7 separate regions of the Homo sapiens genome follow, and all the other regions are linked to region 2. Evidence: promoter capture Hi-C in 16 types of primary human blood cells and fetal thymus (Javierre and others, 2016). All regions are on one chromosome and are shown on one strand. The core of a region is centred on a gene start or on the middle of the fragment in contact, and the rest is flanking DNA. Distances in the headings are between cores, read along the strand shown. Region 1 has its middle 5.3 kb from the start of RNF19A. Region 2 holds the start of MTDH (metadherin). Region 3 has its middle 5.1 kb from the start of NDUFAF6. Region 4 holds the start of LOC105375669 (a long non-coding RNA gene). Region 5 overlaps INTS8 (integrator complex subunit 8). Region 6 has its middle 5.0 kb from the start of INTS8. Region 7 holds the start of CCNE2 (cyclin E2).

Region 1 (2,700 bases), core at 181-2,680, 2.7 Mb before region 2:
TGGTGGGGCCTTGGAGAACCTTTGTGTTGATACTCTGTATCTAACTAATCTGATGGGGACATGGAGAACCTTTATATCTAGCTCAGGGATTGTAAAGGCACCAATCAGCACCCTGTCAAAACAGACCACTTGGCTCTACCAATCAGCAGGATGTGGGTGGGGCCAGATAAGAGACTAAAAGCAGGCTGCCCGGGACAGCAGTGGCAACCCACTGGGGTCCCCTTCCACACTGTGGAAGCTTCGTTCTTTCGCTCTTTGCAGTAAATCTTGCTACTGCTCACCCTTTGGGTCCACGCTGCTTTTATGAGCTGTAACACTCACCGCGAAGGTCTGCTGCTTCACTCCTGAGCCAGCGAGACCACAAGCCCACTGGGAGGAAGGAACAACTCCAGACACGCCGTCTTAAGAGCTGTAACACTCACCGCGAAGGTCTGCAGCTTTACTCCTGAGCCAGCGAGACCACGAACCCACCAGAAAGAAGAAACTCCGAACACATCTGACCATCAGAAGGGACAAACTCCAGATGCGCCACCTTAAAAGCTGTAACACTCACCGCAAGGGTCCACGGCTTCATTCTTGAAGTCAGTGAGACCAAGAACCCACCAATTCCAGCCACACTTATGCTGTGGTTCTCAAACATGTGATATGAATTACCTGGAGAGCTTGTGGAAAACTAGATTCTAGCACCCCAACCCCATAGAAAATGAGTCTGTTAGTCTGATATGAAACTCAGAAATCTATTTTAACAAGCAAGATTAGCCAGGCATGGTGCCACACACCTGTAGTCCCAGCTACTCAGGAGGCTGAGGTGGGAGGATCGCTTGAGTCCAAGAGGTCAAGGTGATCGCACTGCACCACTGCACTCCCACCTGGACAACAGAGTGAGACCTTGTCTCAACAACAACAACAACAACAAGACGACGAAGAAGAAAAATTTCCATGACCCTGCTGGGAAAGAAACTGAATCAATTTGGAAATCAGTATATTTAGTCACATAAGGACAGGTAAGGAGGAGAGTCAAGAAGTAGCACATTCCAATGATCAATTGTGCTGAAAGAGAATCTCTTTCTCCCTGGACAAGGCCCCAGACTGCCTCCCTAAGCCAGGTGAAATGATGGTGGAGACTAAAGCCCCCAAGCTCCCATTCATTCCTGGTTGCATTTTTCCCCCCCAGTGAAACAAACATAAGGCCAAGCTTCTTGCCTTTGATGTCCTGAAGCACAATTAATGGTACCTTGTCCTGTGTCTATATCATATGTACTTTATTGGCTCTTATATTAGAGTGAGTATACATAGATCATCCAGGCTGGAGTGCAGTGGTGTGATCTTGGCTCACTGCACCCTACAACTCCCAGGCTTAAGTGATCCTTTCACCTTAGCCTCCTGAGTAGCTCGGACTACAGGTGTGTGCCACCATGCCTGGGCACACGACAAAACTCCTAGAGATGGGTTTTGTCATGTTGCCTAGGCCCAAATCATCTGCTTGCCTCAGCCTCCCAAAGTGCTGGGATTACAGGCATGTGCCAGCACACTGGCCTAGAGTGATTTTCTCGATGTCAGTTTCCCTGGCAAGTTTACAAGCTGCTCAAGGGGAGGGACGATACTTTACCATATTGGTGTCTCGCAGCACCTAGGGAAGGCATGTCATGTGCATAGCTAAGCTTCTGTGCCTGCTTCCTCTTTCTCTCACTAGGTGTCAGGCATTAAGTTCTCTACCTTCAAAGTTTAGTGGGAAAGGCCTACAAATAATGACAATGAAGTACTTTATACAGAAAAATTATAGAGGTAAGCATGGTTGTTGTGGAGCTAGGGAATGTGAGCTTGATTTAGCCTGTCAGGACCAGTGAGAGTTGATAGAAATGAGCCAGGCAGAGGAGAGGGGAGGGGGCATTTTAGGCATAGTAGCATCTGCAAAGCTAGGTAGTACCTACAAAGAGAAAGAAAGTTAGCAGGGTGTGTGAGAAAGAGAAGAGAAGGAAGACAGGAAAGGATGGGGGGATTTGTGGTACTGCTAGTACCTTACTGTGGCTAAAGAAATGTTCACTTAGGCTGTGACACCAGGGAAGGGGCCAGGGGTAGGTTTAAGAGAAGAGCATGAGCTCTGGAGCCAGCCTGCCGGATGGTCCAAATCCCAGCTCTGCCACTTAGCTACGTAACTTTCAGCAAATTACTTAAACTCTTGTGCCTCAGATCCTAATTTGGGAGCTTTAGGGATTCTTGATGATAAACTAAGTGGCTTAATACTTATAAAGCAATCAGAATAGTGCCTGTCATATAGTATATGTACTCAATAAAAAGTATATATAGTATGTGTACTCAATAAAGTGAACATATAGTGTACTATATATAGTATATATAGTATGTATGCAATAAAGAGTAGTTCTCGGCTGGGCACGTGGCTCATGCCTGCAATCCCAGCACTTTGTAAGGCTGAGCTGGGCAGATTACTTAAGCCCAGGAGTTCAAGACCCACCTGAGCGACATGGCAAAACCTCGTCTCTACAAAAAATACAAAAATTAGCCAGGCATGGTGGCATGTGCCTGAAGTCCCAGCTACTCATGAGGCTGAGGGGGGAAGATTGTTTAAGCCCAGGAGGTGGAGGTTGCAATGAGCCAATATTGAGCCACTGGGTGACAGAGTAAGACTCTGTCTCAAAAAAAAAGTAGTTCTCTTTCTCTTTACTTGCCACTTTTATTCCA
Region 2 (2,700 bases), core at 35-2,534:
TGGCCACATTTGCCAGAACAAGAATGGGCAACCATTTCCCTTTAACAGTCCCAACTAAAATGGAAGCGCGTCTAGACCTGGACACCTTTAATCCTGTGTAAGCCCCAGAATTTCTAGGTCACCGCACTTCTTCCACTGCCTACTGTCTCAATGTGACTTGAGATAGACATCTGTCTTCCGAGCGCAGTCTTTATACAACTTCCTAACACCACCTTAAGGTCCCATTACGCTCCACATGCAGCCTACTCTGCAGGCCTCAAGGAAGGATGCTGTGCTTATTCTAGCGGTGACGGTTCCCAAAGATGGCTTGACCTCTGGGCGCCTATCTGAACGGACCCCCAGACCTCCTAACTTCCTTCCTCGAAACTGGGCTTCCCCACTCGTCCTATACTTCCTGAGTTCCCCCCATTCCCCAAATAACATGACCACCTATCACCTCCTCCTCCACTTGGGAGTGCTGCCTCTCGGCTTTCGACTAAGCACTCTTTTCCTTCCCGGCTGGGGCGCGGCCTCCCCCAAGCTCGAGGGTCTCCACGCCCGCCCTTCGCCCGTTCTCTACTGCCGCTCATCCCATACTCACTTTGGGCTTCTCGGACAGTTTCTTCCGGTTCTTCTTCTTCTGTTCCTCGCTCCGGAGATTCTTCAGCAAGGCCAGGTCGTCGGGGGCCGCGGCCGGCACGGCCGCCGCCTCCTCCCGCTTGCGGGGCGGGCTCCTCCGCTTTTTGCGGGCGCCGGCGCAAGCCGCGGCCCAGCCGTAGCCCAGCAGAAACAGCAGCAGCAGCCCGAGCGCGCCAGTGCCCACCAGGATCACCCAGCCGGGGTACCGTTTCGGCTCCAGCCCCAGGTCGAGGCCCAGCTCGGTGCGCAGAAAGCCTAGGCCGACCGAGAGCATTTCCCGCAGCCGGGCCGAGCCCTCCTCGGCCTGCTGGGCCAGCTCGTCCTGCCAGCTCCGTGCAGCCATCTTCCCTCCCGTCAGAGGGACTCGCAGGATGACGCCGGGGCGCGGAGACGCAGTGGAATAGTCGAGGGAAGCGAGGAAGGGCCGGGCCGGGTAACCTCAGGCCGAGCGCATCGCGGCCGTCCCTCGCGCCGGAGCCGGGGATCGGCCGCTGCCACCGCGGGGAGGGCGGAGGGGTCTCCCAGGTTCCCCGCTGTCAGCCTCACTCCGCCGCCGCCAGGAGACCCGGGAGGCGGGAGGGAGTGTCTCCAGTGGCGGCCGCTAAGCGGCGTCTCGGCGCCAGCGCCAGGCCCCGCTGTCCTCCCTCGGCGGAACAATGGCGGCTTGGGCCGCGATCCACGCCGCGCGCGGGGACGACCGTGGGTCACGTGGGCGCCAGTGGGCGGGGCGTGGGCGTCACGTGGGGGCGGGCGGGGTCGGGTGGGGCAAAGGCGTGTCAGGGAAGGTTGGCGGTGGTCGGTTCGGGCCTGGTTAAGACGCGGCGTTGGGGACCCGTTACTGTAGACCAGAAGCTGGGAGGGGTTAATTGGTGGACGCCTTCGCGGGGTGGCTGGTGGCGCAGAGTTAGGAGACGTGGCGCAACGAATGAGTACAGAGGAGGGGCTCCGTGCAAGGCGGGGGCGGGCGGGGGGCGGGTAGGGCTGCAGCGCTAGGAACCGGGTCACCGGGTCTAGGTCAAAGTCGCCCTGGCAGGTATAGGGCTCTTCATGCCTTTTTCTGGAGTGTTATTGAGGTGGAATCGCTTTTTCTCCCTGGTGGCGCCAGTTGGATCCTTCCAGAATGAGCTCAACGGAGTCTGACGCCGAACACTGTTCTTCCGGGACCTAGGTTTAGTTCACAAATTGGGTATTTCTCTCCAGGGTGTTTCTCTCCAGGGCAACTAATACACTGCGTGCCTACCAGTTGCCAGCCTGGCGAGGGCACGTTTGCGTCGTTTGGCTCATTCACTCTTGCTCTCTGTTGTTAGTCCCCAGAATTCAAAAGTTGGAAAGCCCGTGGGCGGCACTATTCTTTTCCTACTAATTTGTAGCTTTAATAACACATAAGGGGAAGCACATTAGATTGTATTTACTTATGGAGGGAGCTTTCTCGTTACGTTTTATTTTAAGCTTTTCTACAACACTGCAAAAGGGGTTTGCAAAAATTCCATTTTTATATGCTATGTTGACCATCTCTGGGATGCAGCTATAGAAGGAAACGAACTGCCTTTTCAAATTTTTTTTTTTTGAGACAAGAGTCTCGCTCTGTCGCCCGGGCTGGAGTGCAGTGGCACTATCTCCGCTCACTGCAAGGTCCGCCTCCTGGGTTCAAGCCATTCTCCTGCCTCAGCCTCCCGAGCAGCTGGGACTATAGGCACCCACCACCACGCCCGGCTAATTTTTTGTATTTTTAGTAGAGACGGGGTTTCACCGTGTTAGCCAGGATGGTCTTGATCTCCTGACCTCGTGATCCGCCCACCTCAGCCTCCCAAAGTGCTGGGATTACAGGCGTGAGCCACCACGCCAGGCCTTCAGGTTTTAATTATAAGGGAAATGCTTGAAGGCTGCCTTAGGGTTTTAAGATTATATTTTGCTATAAGGAAACTCTGTATTTTATCGGTAAATGATCATTAGCGTGTAAGCAACTGTCTTAAGTGAACTAAATACAGGCTTTCTCAAGGAATACAGCAGGGGTAATATTAATAACCACCAAATACCAAAAATGTATTTTGACCTATTTTGCAACAGTGTCGTAATGCATAT
Region 3 (2,700 bases), core at 186-2,685, 2.6 Mb after region 2:
CAAATCCCCAGCCTTTAACCAGCCACCTACGGCCTCTACAGACTCCCAAGAGAGCTACACAGAGGACAGTCCTGGCAAATGGGCAATGTTTATTACACTGTTTTTACAAACCCCACTGCTAAGCTTGTCTGGATCACTTCAAAGGCAAAAAGACATGTAGAAAGACAAACCCAACAAAAATGGTGTGATTCAAGACCTAAATCAAAGTAAGCCGCAACCCAAGGCTTTCCTGAGATTTGGGGTTATAGGAGGAGAGCTCTAAGTTTGTCCTTGTCACCACAAAAGTTCTAATGCCCTTTTTCCCTTTCATGAACCTCTACTCATCCCCCAAACACCTAATTAAACACCTCTTCCTTCCTGAATTTTCCTTGACCATAACCCCATCCAAGAAAAAAAGAGTTGTTCCCCCAGTTTTGATCCTATAACAATTTGTGTTCATGTTTGATCACTTTGCCAGGTCTTACTGTGGTGATCTGCTTATATGGCCCTCTTCCCAGACTGCCAAAGGTAGATGTTTTCTTACTCCTCTTTTTATCTCCAGTGCCTGGCCAAGTGCCTGGCATTGGGAGGTGTTAGTGTATCGTTCTGAAGGCCAAGTTTTTTGGCACCGGAAATAAGACACCAGGTTATGCAGTGTGTGCACTGCACAAACATGCCTGGCTAAGGGAGCAAGAGGGGCTGGTGTGGGCTGGTGTGGCATTGTCTCTGCTCAGAGGAAGGGTAGCCTTTCTCTTCACACAGAGAGGCATGTGCCTGCAGGGCTGCCTCAGCCCAGATGGGGACCTTCTCATTTATAACAAGGCACCATACAGGCTTGCAGTCTTAGTGACTGAAAGAGCAAATCAGACTCAGCAAGTTTAAGAAGGGCAGAATATGAAGAAAATACAAAGTTGAAAGGAATATTTCCCCTTGTGAAGGGTTTCCACTATTCGTTTAATAGTCAAGCCTTACAGTTATCTGATTTTAAGGAACCTATTATCAGCAGCTATGAAAAAGAGGAACTTGAATGCATCATGCTTTTTGGGTAGTTTACTTATCCTCAATTACCTTTGTTTTTTTGAGACAAAGTTTCACTCTTGTCGCCCAGGCTGGAGTGCAATGGTGCGATCTCCGCTCACTGCAACTTCCACCTCCCGGGTTCAAGCAATTATCCTGCCTCAGCCTCCCAAGTAGCTGGGATTACAGGCACCCACCACCACACCCAGCTAATTTTTGTATTTTTAGTAGAGACAGGGTTTCACCATGTTGGCCAGACTGGTCTCAAACTCCTGACCTCAGGCGATCTGCCTGCCTCGGCCTCCCAAAGTGCTGGGATTACAGGCATGAGCCTTCATGCCTGGCCCTCAATTACCATTTTTTTAAAAAATATAGAATTGTACAATTTTAGATTTGAAAGAAAGTCATCTATCAATTCAATAGTTTTTGAGCATTTAGTACTGGTTATACACGTAGTATGGAAGGGGCACTAGAAACTAACAAAATTAGCCAATGTCAAATACCTATTAGGTGGCATATTTTTCATTTGCTAAAAGGACACCTACACACTGTTCTCTCAGAAACAAGAAGAGGCAAAGTGGTCACTATGTTATGCAATTGCAGTTTTATTCATTTCACTCTTTGGTTTCCACTATGATCTTATATTGCCAATTTTTCAATACCAAAGCTGTCATTTCTTTAGGTTTTTTTTCTCTTATCTTTTCACACCTACCAAAAATGGACCATCAGCCATTCTGGGGCATACCTGCGAAATGTTCCATAGATTTAATGCATACAAAATCACATGTAGGAAGAGGAAGATTGATGATGACCCCTACATAAGACACAGACAAGACTTGTCATAGTTGTCACATGGGTATGGTGGGTTGTCTCTGCACAAGTTGTTTCTAATTACAATAAAGAACTAAAGTTTGAAAATACTATTGTTTGCTTTGTGTATATATTAGAGATGAGGCGGGGTGCAGTGGCTCACGCCTGTAATCCCAGCACTTTGGGAGGCCAAGGCAGGCAGATCACTTGAGGCCAGGAGTTTGAGACAGCCTGGCCAACATGGCAAAACCCTGTCTCTACTAAAAATACAAAAATTAACTGGGCATGGTGGCGCAAACCTGTAGTCCCAGCTACTTGGGAGGCTGAGGCAGGAGAACCGCTTGAAGCTGAGAGGTGGAGGTTGCAGTGAGCCAAGATCATGCCATCGCACTCCAGCCAGGGTCTAGAGCGAGACTCTGTCTCAAAATAAATAAGTAAATATATATATGAGATGACTCCAAGTTATCCTGATGATAATGTCATTTTCAACATGGGAGAGAAATGGGTGGAGTTACAGCTATGTACCAGAAACCACAAATACCTTGCCTATGCCATAGCCCCTAAGTCAAGTACCCAGGGAATATAGCATATCTGTGATCATCACCCCATCACCCATTGTGTGTATTGTAGGGGGAAGTGGTTAGGAGCCTAAAGGCTTATGATGTCATTTCTTCTTCTTTCTTCATCTTGTCCTGTTCCTTCTCTTTCTCATTTCTCTTTTGGCACCTGAATTGGTTGCTGTCCACTAATGTACCAAGATCAGTTCAATCAGTTCAATACAATTTGTGTTTAATGGGCATCTTTATGCCTGTGTTTTTATCCCAATGTCTGGGTTGCACACCCCCTCTTCCCACCCCCACCTGTCTTCTCAGATGTTTTCTTGTCTGTCCCCAC
Region 4 (2,700 bases), core at 84-2,583, 2.6 Mb before region 2:
AAAAAAAAATACTGATTGAACAGTAATAAATGGATCAGAAAACAAATACAAAGGCATTAGAGGACAAGTCAGAATTAATTAAGGGAGAGTCAGAAATTAAGTTAAGGGAGAGAACCATTTGATGTAATGGAATAAAAGAAGGCAATCATTCAGGTGATAAAAGTAACTGATAACACATCTATATTTTGACATGTTCTTGAAGGAGGGGAAGGGAAAAACAGTATAAAACAACTAGATTTTAGGTAGCTGCCTCAGATTAATTACCTGTTAACACTGTCATTTGCTAGCTGGAGTCCACAGTCTATCTGCAACACTGTTTTATAATCCACATAAGCTTTCCCATACTGCTCTAGAGTTTCATAGGCCATCGCCCGCCTCAGAAGAGGTTTCATAGAGAATGGATGAAGTTCCAGAGCCCTAAAGAAGACAAAAATATTACATACCATTTGTTTTGAAAAATGCTCTTTCGTTTATACTTCACTGAATAGATACTGCAGTACTGAACTCTCAAATATGTACACATCCGAGACTTCGTCTTGGGAACCAGGCAACATGCCAGAAAGGCAAACCCAGAGTAAGAAAGCAATCATATTTGTGTTCCTTTCTTTTAAACCAGTAGCAAAGCACTCTGCATTTACTCTTTCCCACTGAGCCGGGAGCTCCCTGGCAGCATGTCCTGGCCTCCCCAGTCCCCTAACAGAGCAGCATGGCACAAGGCACACAGCAGGGTTTCAACAGATTGTCGTTGACAGATTAAAATGAAAATTCTTATTTGCACCTATGTATTTAATAATAAAGTACAGAACCATAAAAGTTGCATCACATTTTGAAAATCGGCACTCTAAAACTTATTAGTTCATTATGATTCACTTGCTGCAAAAGGGCTTCAAAAACAGACCAAAGGGGAATCAAGGAACTAAACCTACAATGATTTCTTCTAAGTTATGAATTTTCATCTTGCACGTTTTAGTCTATGAAGTGTTTCCAATATCACTAAAGATGTATCTCATGGTTGTGTTTTTTGGTTTTGTTTGAAGTGTTTAAAGCTACTTCAGCATTTAACGTACTTCATTATATTCTGAAGTAAAACAATAAAAAAACTGTACATATAATCCTCGATTTACAATATGGTTATGTCCCAATAATCCCATGGTAAACTGAAAATATGTTAAGTCAAAAGGCAGCGCAGAGCCTTTGGTTAAGGAATCACAAATCTGTATTTATGAATGAAAACTATAGTACTCTTGGTTTTAACAAAATCAACAGAAGCTGCAAAGAAGTCCTCCATGCAGAGATCCTATGAAGAGCCTCCTTTCTATATAACCTAACTAACATCTGCACCAGACTGTCCACATTGAAGATGGTGGATTTATTCTTTCAACTCATGCTATAAACAGTTAATATAACAAGTATTTAACTTTCCAGGAAAGCATGAGCAAGGGCTGCTTTCTTTAACTTGCTGTTTTTCCGATACTCTTAGAAATCTGCTGTCTATTCCTGTCTACAATGATTCAGCAATGAGGAAACATTGACAGAGTATCTGCTATGTGCTAGTCACTGTAGACTTCCCCATCTAATCTCACAACAAACCTGTCAGGTAAATATTAATATGTTCATTATGTGGGTGAAGAAACAGAAACATGAGGAGTGACATGCCCACAGGTCAGTTCTTTCTAATGTGAGCTTCAGGAAGGCAATTGGCATTGCCTGTCCTGAGCACCACTATATTCCCAGTCCTAGATCACCTGGGTCATGAGAGGCACTCAGCAAACTTCTCTGTGAGCCCTCAAAAGCCTACACTCTGCCTACCGCAGTACACATACAAACACTGCAAATGAAGGAACTCTTGAGTCATTTGCCACTCAGACCACATCATACAGATACTCAGCTGCACTTGTGGGAGCCCTTCTGGCATATCATAGAAGTTACTCTAGAAATGCTGTTAAACCTAATCTGCTTCACTTCTCTGAAAAAATAACCAATTTCACTCTGCCTAGGTGTTAGGATTGTGAGTGATTTTAATGATAGTCTTTGTGCTGTGCTAGTTTTTTCTTAAGTTTTCTATAATAGGTAAGTGGTTTTTTAAAACAGTAAATGTTATTTAAAATATAAAATTAAAATCAAGTAAACATATTTCAACACTAGAAAATAGATCTGTGGGCATCAGGATCTGTCACCTGTACCACTGCCTTAAATTTAGCTTAGTTTAATGTTTAGGTAATATTAACTCTATGAGCAGAGTCACAACCATGTGACTACCTTCACTTCACAGAAGACTTCCAATGACCAAGGTGCCATTTATCTATTCAAGATGGCCTTAAGCCAAGCTTGGGATCTAAAACTGATGAGATGCTGTATTAATTTTTAGCACTTTCTGCCCAGTAAATTTATTTCTTTAACTACAATCCTGAAAATGAATATGAACTTATGAATGGAAATTCCATTAAGGAAAAAAACCACCCATGTATAAAAATAAGCACAGAGAACTTTTGAAGCAGAGCTTACAAAAGAGGCTATCTATTCAAGGTAACACAGTTAAGACCCTAAAAAATCTTCCAATTTCAAGACTGTGAGAGTAGCAAAGATAAGAAAAAGCAGAGAACTGGCCAGGCACGGTGGCTCAAGCCTGTATGTAATCCCAGAACTTTGGGAGGCCAAGGTTGGCAGACCACTTGAGGCCAGGAGTTCAAGACTAGCCTG
Region 5 (2,700 bases), core at 53-2,552, 2.8 Mb after region 2:
ACTGCAGATCTTCCAACCCCAGACACACATTCCTAGATCAGTAAGAAATATTGTAAAACAAAAAAGTGTATAATTTAGTTTGAGAAAAACAATCATATCAACCAATTTTAATAAGCCATTTAAAAAGCCACCATTACATAAACTGTATAATGATATTTTAAAATAGATTTTAAAATTTCCCTTTGGTCCTTATTTAAAATTGTGATGTCAATGCCACAATATTAAAAAAAGGTAACTATATAATCCTAATGTCTCACGTGGCTATACAAATTTGAACTTAATGGGTTCTCAAACACCAGTTACTGCCTGGTTAAAAGATACCCAAGACAAAAACAAAAGATAATACAGATATTTTGTTCACAGGACTAAGTTCAAAGTTAAAAAAAAAAAGAAAAAAGAAAAGAAAGGTACTTACTTTAGAAAAGCAGCCATGTTTCCTTTCAAAGACTCTGAAGCTTTTTCTAAATTTACTGATCTTGAACATACCTAGGAATTTGAGTAATTTTCATTTGAATATGGGTACTTATAAAAATGTAAATTATAATTTGAAAAGGCTGGATTTAAAAACAACTGAATTTTCCTTTTTCAACAATGTACCAATCACAGATTTAGTTAAGTAACTTAACAGAAGAGACCAGACCAAGGAATAACAATCCATCACAAAGAGGGAATGGAATGTGACCATTTTAATAAGTGCAGGTGTATACATGTAGCAAAGAATAACCTAGTTACCATGCTATACAGTTCTCACAGAATTTATCAACTATGTTGCCAAATTATATTAAGTGATAAACCATAGAAATCAGTAGCTCCTGTCAGAAAAGAGTTAAAAAAATAAAAAATTTTTAAAACCAAAAAGAAAATAATTGAAAAGAGTAAGTGATTTATCATGAATATAGAACTAATGGTTCTATATTCATGAGCTATTCATGAATAGTTAAAAAGGTAACCAAGGTTTAAAAAGTAAACAATGCAAACAAAGAATAGAAACTAGTTATGGTCATATTAGTTATCTACAAATAATATTTTCATATTATGTTGAATTTATTCATTAGATTAGGATTCCTCCTAATATATTATTTATAAGAAGCCAAAATAAAATATAACTAGTGTAAAAGTCCATAATCTCAAGAAATTGCTAAATATTTTTTACGTTGACACACACACAAAATAGAATGTTCATAGTAGTATTAATCATAGTAGCCAAAAAGTATAAGTAACCTGCAGTCTACCAACTGATGAATAAACACACAAAATACAGTATATATCCATTCAATTAAGTATTATTCAGCCATAAAAAGTGAAGTACTGATACATGCTACAATATTGAAAACGTGCTAAGAAGCCAGTTACAAAAGATCATCTATTTCATAGTTCCATTTACATAAAATATCCAGAACAGATAAATCTATAGAGAAATTAGATTAGTAGTTGCCTCAGGTGGTGCGAGATTGAGGGAAAATGAAGAGTGACAGGTAATGAATAAGAGATTATCTTTTTGGAGTGAAAAAAGGAAGTGAAGTGATAGCTGCACAACTCTAGGAATACACTAAAACGCACTGACTTATACACTTTAAATGCGTGAACTGTATGGTATGTGAATTATATCTTGATGAAACTGTTATTAAAAAAACAGGCTTGGTGCGGTGGCTCCTGCCTCTAATCCCAGCACTTTGGGAGGCTGAGACAGGTGGATCACCTGAGGTCAAGAGTTCCAGATCAGCCTGGCCAACATGGTGAAACCTCGTCTCTACTAAAAATACAAAAAAAATTACGTGGGCATGGTGACACGGGCCTGTAGTCCCAGCTACTTGGGGAGGCTGAGGCAGGAGAATCACTTCAACCCAGGAGGCAGAGGTTAGAGTGAGTGGAGATCAGGCCACTGCACTCTAGCCTGGGAAACAGAGAGAGACTCCATCTCAAAAAAAAAAAAAGCAGTGTTTTAAAAGTGCTATGTTCAAATACCATTTTCTGATTAACAAATTAACCTATCAGTAAATAACATCTGAGCATCTTGGAGTATGTATTATACACTTACATTCTAATAACTTTGTTTCTTTGCTGCCATATGTAAATATCTTATGGTGAGTAATAAATATCTGAGTCTCCTTTTACAACAGATTATTTATTCACATAGTGAGAAGCTTTGTACATGTGTCATGGAACAATGTAGGGAACATGTAACTTCTAATAAGCAAACCTAACAGATCATGTTATGTGAATTTCATGCACTTCAATTTAAAAAAAGAAAAACTCAAACTAGTGGGCATCTCTGTAGATGCTTTAATATTAAAATAATAAATTTTAATACTAATAAACTTAAGATGAAATGGACAAATCCTTAGAAAATAACTTCTTAAAACTAACTCTAGAAAAACGAGAATATAGTTCTATGATCACTGATCAAAAACCTTCCCACAAAAAAATTACCCAGGCCCAGACTTTACTGGTAAATTCTACCCAACACTGAAAGAAGCAATGACTTCATTTTTACACAAACTTTTCCAGACAATAAAAAAGACAGATGCCTCAACTTATTTATAAGGCAAGCATGACCTTGACACCAAAATCAAAGGAAGGACAAGAAAGAAAAAAATGTGTGCATCGGCCAGGTGTCATGGCTCACACCTGTAATCCAGGCACTTTGGGAGGCAGAGGTGGGAGGATCACTTGAGGTCAGGAGTTTGAAACCAGCCCAGC
Region 6 (2,700 bases), core at 113-2,612, 2.8 Mb after region 2:
TGCACTCCAGCTTAGGCGACAAGAATGAAACTCTGTCTCAAAAAAAAAAAAATGTTAAAAATAGGCTTACCAGATGACTCAGCAATTCCCCTTCTAGGTATGTATCCAAGAGAAAGGAGAAAATGTACCCACACAAAGACTTGAATGTTTAGAACAGCAGTATCTACAGTAGCCTAAAAGTAGAAACCAAGGTCTATAACCTGGTGAATAGACAAATAAAATGTGACATACTCATTGTATCTGTTTCAAGTGGCTGCTGTAACAAATTACCACAAACTTTGTGGTTTAAAACAACAGAAACTGGCCGAGTGCAGTGGCTCACGCCTGTAATCCCAGCACTTTGGGAGGCTGAGGTGGAGAGTCCAGGAATTCAAGACGTATCTGGGCAGCATAGTGAGACTTCTGTCTCTACAAAAAAATCAAAATAAAAAATAAGGCTGGGATGGTGGTGTGCGTCTGTAGTCCTGGCTATGTGGGAAACTGAGGTGGGAGGATTGCTTGAGCCCAAGAGGATGAGGCTACAGTGAGCCGAGATTGCACCACTGCACTCAGGTGGGTGACAGAGTGAGACCCTGTCTCAAAAAAAAAAAAAAAAAGAAAAGAAAGAAAGAATGAGAACAGACTGTGGTCATTCAGACTTGGGTATTTAGCAGACATTTTCTTGAACAAAGTGAGCCTGTCATGTCACTTTATGGAAAACAACTAACACCATTTGTGGCGAATAATAACATTCAATTTTTTTTTTTTTTTTTTGAGATGGAGTTTTGCTCTTGCTGCCCAGGCTGGAGTGCAATGGTGCTATCACCGCTCACTGCAACCTCCACCTCTCAGGTTCAAGCGATTCTCCTGCCTCAGCCTCCCGAATAGCTGGGATTACAGGCACTGCCACCACCACACCTGGCTAATTTTTCTATTTTTAGTAGAGATGGGGTTTCACCATGTTGGCCAGACTGGTCTTGAACTCCTGACCTCAAGTGATCCTCCCACCTTGGCCTCCCAAAGTGCTGGGATTACAGACATGAGCCACCGCTCCTGGCCAACATTCAACTTTTTAAGTAAAATTAGAATTTTAGAAAACTGTAAACTTGGCAGCTTCCCAATACTTGACAAGACTTTTCTGATGACACCAATGGCGATATTAACAAATGTATATTTAAATGTGTCAACTTTCAGATGATCATCACAACTTGACAAATCAATCAATATTTTCCTAATATATGGCTAAAAGATTTATTTAAATTCCAAGACAAGCCGAGCACAGTGGCTCATGCCTGTAATCCCAACACTTTGGGAGGCAGGGGCAGGATGATCACTTGAAACCAGGAGTTGGAGACTGCAGCGAGCTATGATCATGCCACTGTACTCCAGTCTGGGTGACAGAGCGAGACCCTGCCTCTTAAAAGTAAATAAATAAAAAATTTCAGCTGGGCACGGTGGCTCATGCCTGTAATCCCAGCACTTTGGGAGGCCGAGGTGGGAGGATGACGAGGTCAGGAGTTTGGACCAGCCTGGCCAACGTGATCAAACCCTGTCTCTATTAAAAATACAAAAATTAGCTGGCATGGTGGCAGGTGCCTGTAATCCTAGCTACTCAGGAGTCTGAAGCAGGAGAATAGCTTGAACCCGGGAGGCAGAGGTTGCAGTGAGCAGAAATCGCATCACTGTACTCCAGCCTGGGCGACAGAGCAAGACTCCATCTCAAAACAAAACAAAACAAAAAATTTCAAGACAGACTGATGAATTGTAATGGAACGGAATTTGAAAAGTTAATTGGTATGATTTCAGATTTAAAATTGCAGCTAATCTTTAAGAAACAACCACTTTCTCAGGTTTTGGTGAAGAAAGTCCATAATTATCCGAAAAGATATAAAATACTTCTTTTTTTAACTACTCATCTATGTGAGCAATGCCACTCTTCTAGTTTTTAAAATGAAAATAGTTATTTTATATAAAATTGTATTTGTCAGCATGTAATAGGATTATTTTTATTTTTATATGATTATTTTATTTTAATTTAAATAAATTAAATATTTTTAAAACTTCTCAGTGTTAATTTTTAATATGGTAAATATAAACAAACACTCTTTTAAGTGCTTAATAATTTTTTGGTCTAACAGGGCCCTGAGACTAAAAAATCTGAGAAACTATTTTATTGAGGCATGCACATCAAAATCCTACTGTGTTTGGCTCTGAAGAGAAGAGGGAAGGAGGATAGAACAGGGGTGGGTTAGAGAAGGGGAGAGGAGAGGTGAATGGGGGGAAGGAGTGGGGGAGGGGGGTCACAGGTACTTCAACTTTATCTGTATTTTTTTTTTTTGAGACAGAGTCTTGCTCTGTTGCCCAGGCTGGAGTGCAATGGTGCGCTCTTGGCTCGCTGCAACCTCCACCTCCCAGGTTCAAGTGATTCTCCTACCTCAGCCTCCAGAGTAGCTGGGATTACAGGCACGCCACCATGCCTGGCTAATTTTTGTATTTTTAGTAGAGACAGGTTACACTATGTCGACCGGGCTGGTCTCGAACTCCTGACCTCAGGTGATCTACCCGCCTCAGCCTCCCAAAGTGCTGGGATTACAGACGTGAGCCACCGCACCCCGTTCTGGTTTTTGTTTGTTTGTTTTGTGATGGTATCTCTCTGTTGCCCAGGCTGGAGTGCAGTGGCATTTAGCTCACTGCCTCCTTGACATCCTGGGTTCAAGTGAT
Region 7 (2,700 bases), core at 157-2,656, 2.7 Mb after region 2:
GCCCGAGCTACCGCGGGTTCCGAGACGCCTTCGCACTGCTCCTCCACCCGGGGGATCTTTGTTCCCGGAGCTGTTCCCCGCCTCGCTGCTCCCGCCGCAAAACCTGTTTGCGGAATACCCGCCGCAAGTCTGACTTGACGATGTGCAGTTTTGGGGTGCGCCAGTTGTGGGGGCATTCATAGAGGCAGCGAAGGGACCCCTAAGTTTAAACACCCGGGGAAGGATAAAGGAAGAGCGTCGGGCCCCCCTCCTCCCAACAGCGCTCGGGCGCGAACGGCGCCCTCCCGCGCTGCCGGCTCGCGCGGGCTCCGCAGGGCGCGCTGGCGGCGGCGGCGGGGCGGGGCGCGGCAGGCGGGCCCGGGGCCTGCACGTGGTGGCGATCTTTCTTCCCACCCGGCCAGGTCCCCGGGGACCACCGCGCTCAGGGGGAGGAGGAATGCCGTTCCCGGGCCCCGCTCCGGAGAGGGGTTTTACCCTCTGGGATCCCGGAATTGGAGGTGGAGAAGAGAGGAAGCAAGGGAGGGCGCGGCGTGGCGCGAGCGTTTCCTGCGCGGGGACTGCGGGGTGGCAGCTGGAGGCCACTGCAGGGGCAGAGCGGCGGGTTGGGGGAGCGACCGACCCATGGGGAGGGAAACCCGGTAGGGGGAGCAGGGAGCCGGAAAGCAGGGTTGATACATACCTGGGTGGGCGGGCTGGAAATGCCTTCCCTGGGCGCGCCGCGCAAGGCCGGCGGAGCGGGCTCCGGGTGGTCGCGGACCGGGACTGGGGAGAGCAGAGCCGCACTTGGCCAGGCGCGTGGCTGAGTGGTGTTTACATTCTGCAGCCACTCCACGTTGTGCTGCCGCCCGTGCCTCCCATTGGCCAGCTCTTCAGCCAACGCTTTGCTCCTCCCCGAGGGGCGGGCCCTCGGGTCCCCGCGTCGCTCAGGAAAGACCTGGGTTCCCTGAGGCCTTGGCGGGACAGCTAGGGCGCGCCCCTGGACGGTCACTTCCCAGCCACCCTATGGTCGCCCGAGTCGTGTCCCCCTGTTATGCGCCCGGGCTGAGCCGCAGGCTGACACCCCCGAAATCCAGGAGTTGCAGTGGGAGGAAGCAAAAGCAAACTGGCGGGAGATGCGCGAGCCAGGCGGCGGGGAGAACAGCCGCGGAGAAGGAGCCCCTGAGAGTTTCCCTACCGCCGCCGGCCGCGCCGTGGAGCGCGGTGGACGCGGGCAGAAGGCCCGGTAGAGTGGACCCCACGGCCGCTCCGGGTGGCGGGCGCGCACTGAGAGCAGGGCGCGGCGCGCGGGCACGCGGGCGGACGGGCGGGAGAGGGGAGCGCGCTGTCCGGAGGTGTCAGTCTGAGGCGCATGCGTGCGGGGCGGGACCGGCCCGGCCTATATATTGGGTTGGCGCCGGCGCCAGCTGAGCCGAGCGGTAGCTGGTCTGGCGGTGAGGAGTTGCTGCGCGTAGGGGGGATGTGGGAGGAAAGAAAGCCCAGTTGGGCCGATCACTTACCACAGGCGGGAGCCTCAGGGAGGAAAATCGGGAGGGCTGAGAACTAGACGACTGGGGGTCATGGGTTCCCGCGTTCCGTCCCTGTCAGGAACCTTGGCAGGGGACCGGGAAGCGGCTGGGCATGGAGAGCCGCCCCTCATTCTAGGGGCTTCTCTATCCCACCCTCATTTGGGGAGCTATCCCGTGGGAGAGAGGATGGGAGGCCGGGTCCCCTCCATGGGGAGAAAAGTTCCCAGCCAGCCCAGTCTCCCCTTTCTTTAGCTCCTTTTCCTGCCCTCCCCCACGCCCTCCGCTTCCCATCTGGAGTTGGGGTCCCGGCGCCCCTCCGAGCGGCGGTAGGGCGGCAGGGCCGGGAAGGAGGGAAAGGAGACTGGAGGCCGTGACACCAGTCTTGGTTCCTCCGCCCCCTGCTTCCCCGCCACCGCCGCTCTCCAAATTGGCGCGGAACCGGCTTCTCCACAGCATTTCGCCTCCACAACCCCCTCTCCCCGCTGGTCCAGGAGGGAGGCGGGACGTGGGGGCGCTGCCCAAGCCCCACTCCCGGTGTACGGGGGAGAGGGTGGAGGACCCAGAAAAACCCGTTTGAGGAAGATGTGCCTCCCTGCGCGTTCAAGGTGTCAGGAGTGCTTGGTAAATTTTTGGACACTCGCGTTCCAGCTGTACATTCAGTTGAGGAAATGCAGGCTTGTATCCAAAATGAATTACCATGAGCTAGCTAACATAGCACAGAAGATGGCAGGGTCACAGGGCCCAGGCCCCCTTCGGAGGGACTGAGCTTTCACCTGCGAATCAGCGTCTTACTGGCACTTGGAGAATGTGAATGACAATGTACTTGACTGCGGCTTTTCCTCTCCCCCCTTCAGAGGTTTTATACACCTGAAAGAAGAGAATGTCAAGACGAAGGTAACATTATCTGTCTTAGAGACATGTTTCAAATTAGTTGCTGCCTTTAACTTACTAATTACACTTCCTTTTTAAAAATTCACTACAGTAGCCGTTTACAAGCTAAGCAGCAGCCCCAGCCCAGCCAGACGGAATCCCCCCAAGAAGCCCAGATAATCCAGGCCAAGAAGAGGAAAACTACCCAGGTGATTTAAGGAGAAAGAGGGAGGAACGAAATTCCATGCTGGGACTTTAGTTTACCAATGGTCTTTTCTATTTTCCAGGATGTCAAAAAAAGAAGAGAGGAGGTCACCAAGAAACA

What was found. Contacts are between HindIII fragments. The CHiCAGO score rates a contact against its expected background, and 5 or more counts as called.
Region 1: a fragment that was not itself captured here is called in contact with the fragment with the promoter of MTDH in region 2 in 1 of 17 cell types (fetal thymus); the score reaches 5.8 in fetal thymus.
Region 3: a fragment that was not itself captured here is called in contact with the fragment with the promoter of MTDH in region 2 in 1 of 17 cell types (naive CD8 T cells); the score reaches 8.8 in naive CD8 T cells.
Region 4: a contact is called between a fragment that was not itself captured here and the fragment with the promoter of MTDH in region 2, in 1 of 17 cell types (fetal thymus). The highest score is 7.5, in fetal thymus.
Region 5: a fragment that was not itself captured here is called in contact with the fragment with the promoter of MTDH in region 2 in 1 of 17 cell types (total CD4 T cells); the score reaches 5.0 in total CD4 T cells.
Region 6: a fragment that was not itself captured here is called in contact with the fragment with the promoter of MTDH in region 2 in 1 of 17 cell types (non-activated CD4 T cells); the score reaches 5.6 in non-activated CD4 T cells.
Region 7: a contact is called between the fragment with the promoter of CCNE2 here and the fragment with the promoter of MTDH in region 2, in 4 of 17 cell types (fetal thymus, total B cells, activated CD4 T cells and 1 more). The highest score is 14.9, in fetal thymus.

What each region holds. Positions count from the first base shown.
Region 1 is chr8:100,313,866-100,316,565 of GRCh38, reverse strand. It overlaps a transcript of RNF19A not described here. Among named protein-coding and RNA genes, the nearest start is that of RNF19A, 5.3 kb to the right of the region's middle. RefSeq lists enhancers at 353-412, 433-492, 2,676-2,700. The HindIII fragment of the contact is 466 bases long and covers 1,198-1,663 here.
Region 2 is chr8:97,642,768-97,645,467 of GRCh38, reverse strand. It overlaps MTDH (metadherin), which reads right to left and starts at 1,284. Exons shown (of 12, transcript NM_178812.4): 1 at 581-1,284. The coding sequence starts at 961. RefSeq lists silencers at 155-323, 607-676, 947-1,406, 1,587-1,696 and enhancers at 1-453, 454-1,434. The HindIII fragment of the contact is 3,502 bases long and covers 1-2,069 here.
Region 3 is chr8:95,018,559-95,021,258 of GRCh38, reverse strand. It overlaps a transcript of NDUFAF6 not described here. Among named protein-coding and RNA genes, the nearest start is that of NDUFAF6, 5.1 kb to the left of the region's middle. The HindIII fragment of the contact is 2,619 bases long and covers 126-2,700 here.
Region 4 is chr8:100,217,996-100,220,695 of GRCh38, reverse strand. SPAG1 (sperm associated antigen 1) reads right to left here. Exons shown (of 19, transcript NM_003114.5): 13 at 265-417. It overlaps LOC105375669 (a long non-coding RNA gene), which reads left to right and starts at 413. Exons shown (of 3, transcript XR_928450.3): 1 at 413-1,597. The HindIII fragment of the contact is 1,993 bases long and covers 337-2,329 here.
Region 5 is chr8:94,847,248-94,849,947 of GRCh38, reverse strand. INTS8 (integrator complex subunit 8) reads right to left here. Exons shown (of 27, transcript NM_017864.4): 11 at 416-486; 12 at 1-32. Among named protein-coding and RNA genes, the nearest start is that of INTS8, 25 kb to the right of the region's middle. The HindIII fragment of the contact is 1,689 bases long and covers 458-2,146 here.
Region 6 is chr8:94,816,948-94,819,647 of GRCh38, reverse strand. No RefSeq gene overlaps it. Among named protein-coding and RNA genes, the nearest start is that of INTS8, 5.0 kb to the left of the region's middle. The HindIII fragment of the contact is 7,350 bases long and covers 1-2,700 here.
Region 7 is chr8:94,893,907-94,896,606 of GRCh38, reverse strand. CCNE2 (cyclin E2) reads left to right here and starts at 1,406. Exons shown (of 12, transcript NM_057749.3): 1 at 1,406-1,430; 2 at 2,360-2,399; 3 at 2,488-2,584; 4 at 2,663-2,700. The coding sequence starts at 2,386. It also overlaps a transcript of NDUFAF6 not described here. RefSeq lists silencers at 1-36, 317-366, 537-586, 717-816, 1,197-1,416 and an enhancer at 2,033-2,594. The HindIII fragment of the contact is 5,265 bases long and covers 1-2,700 here.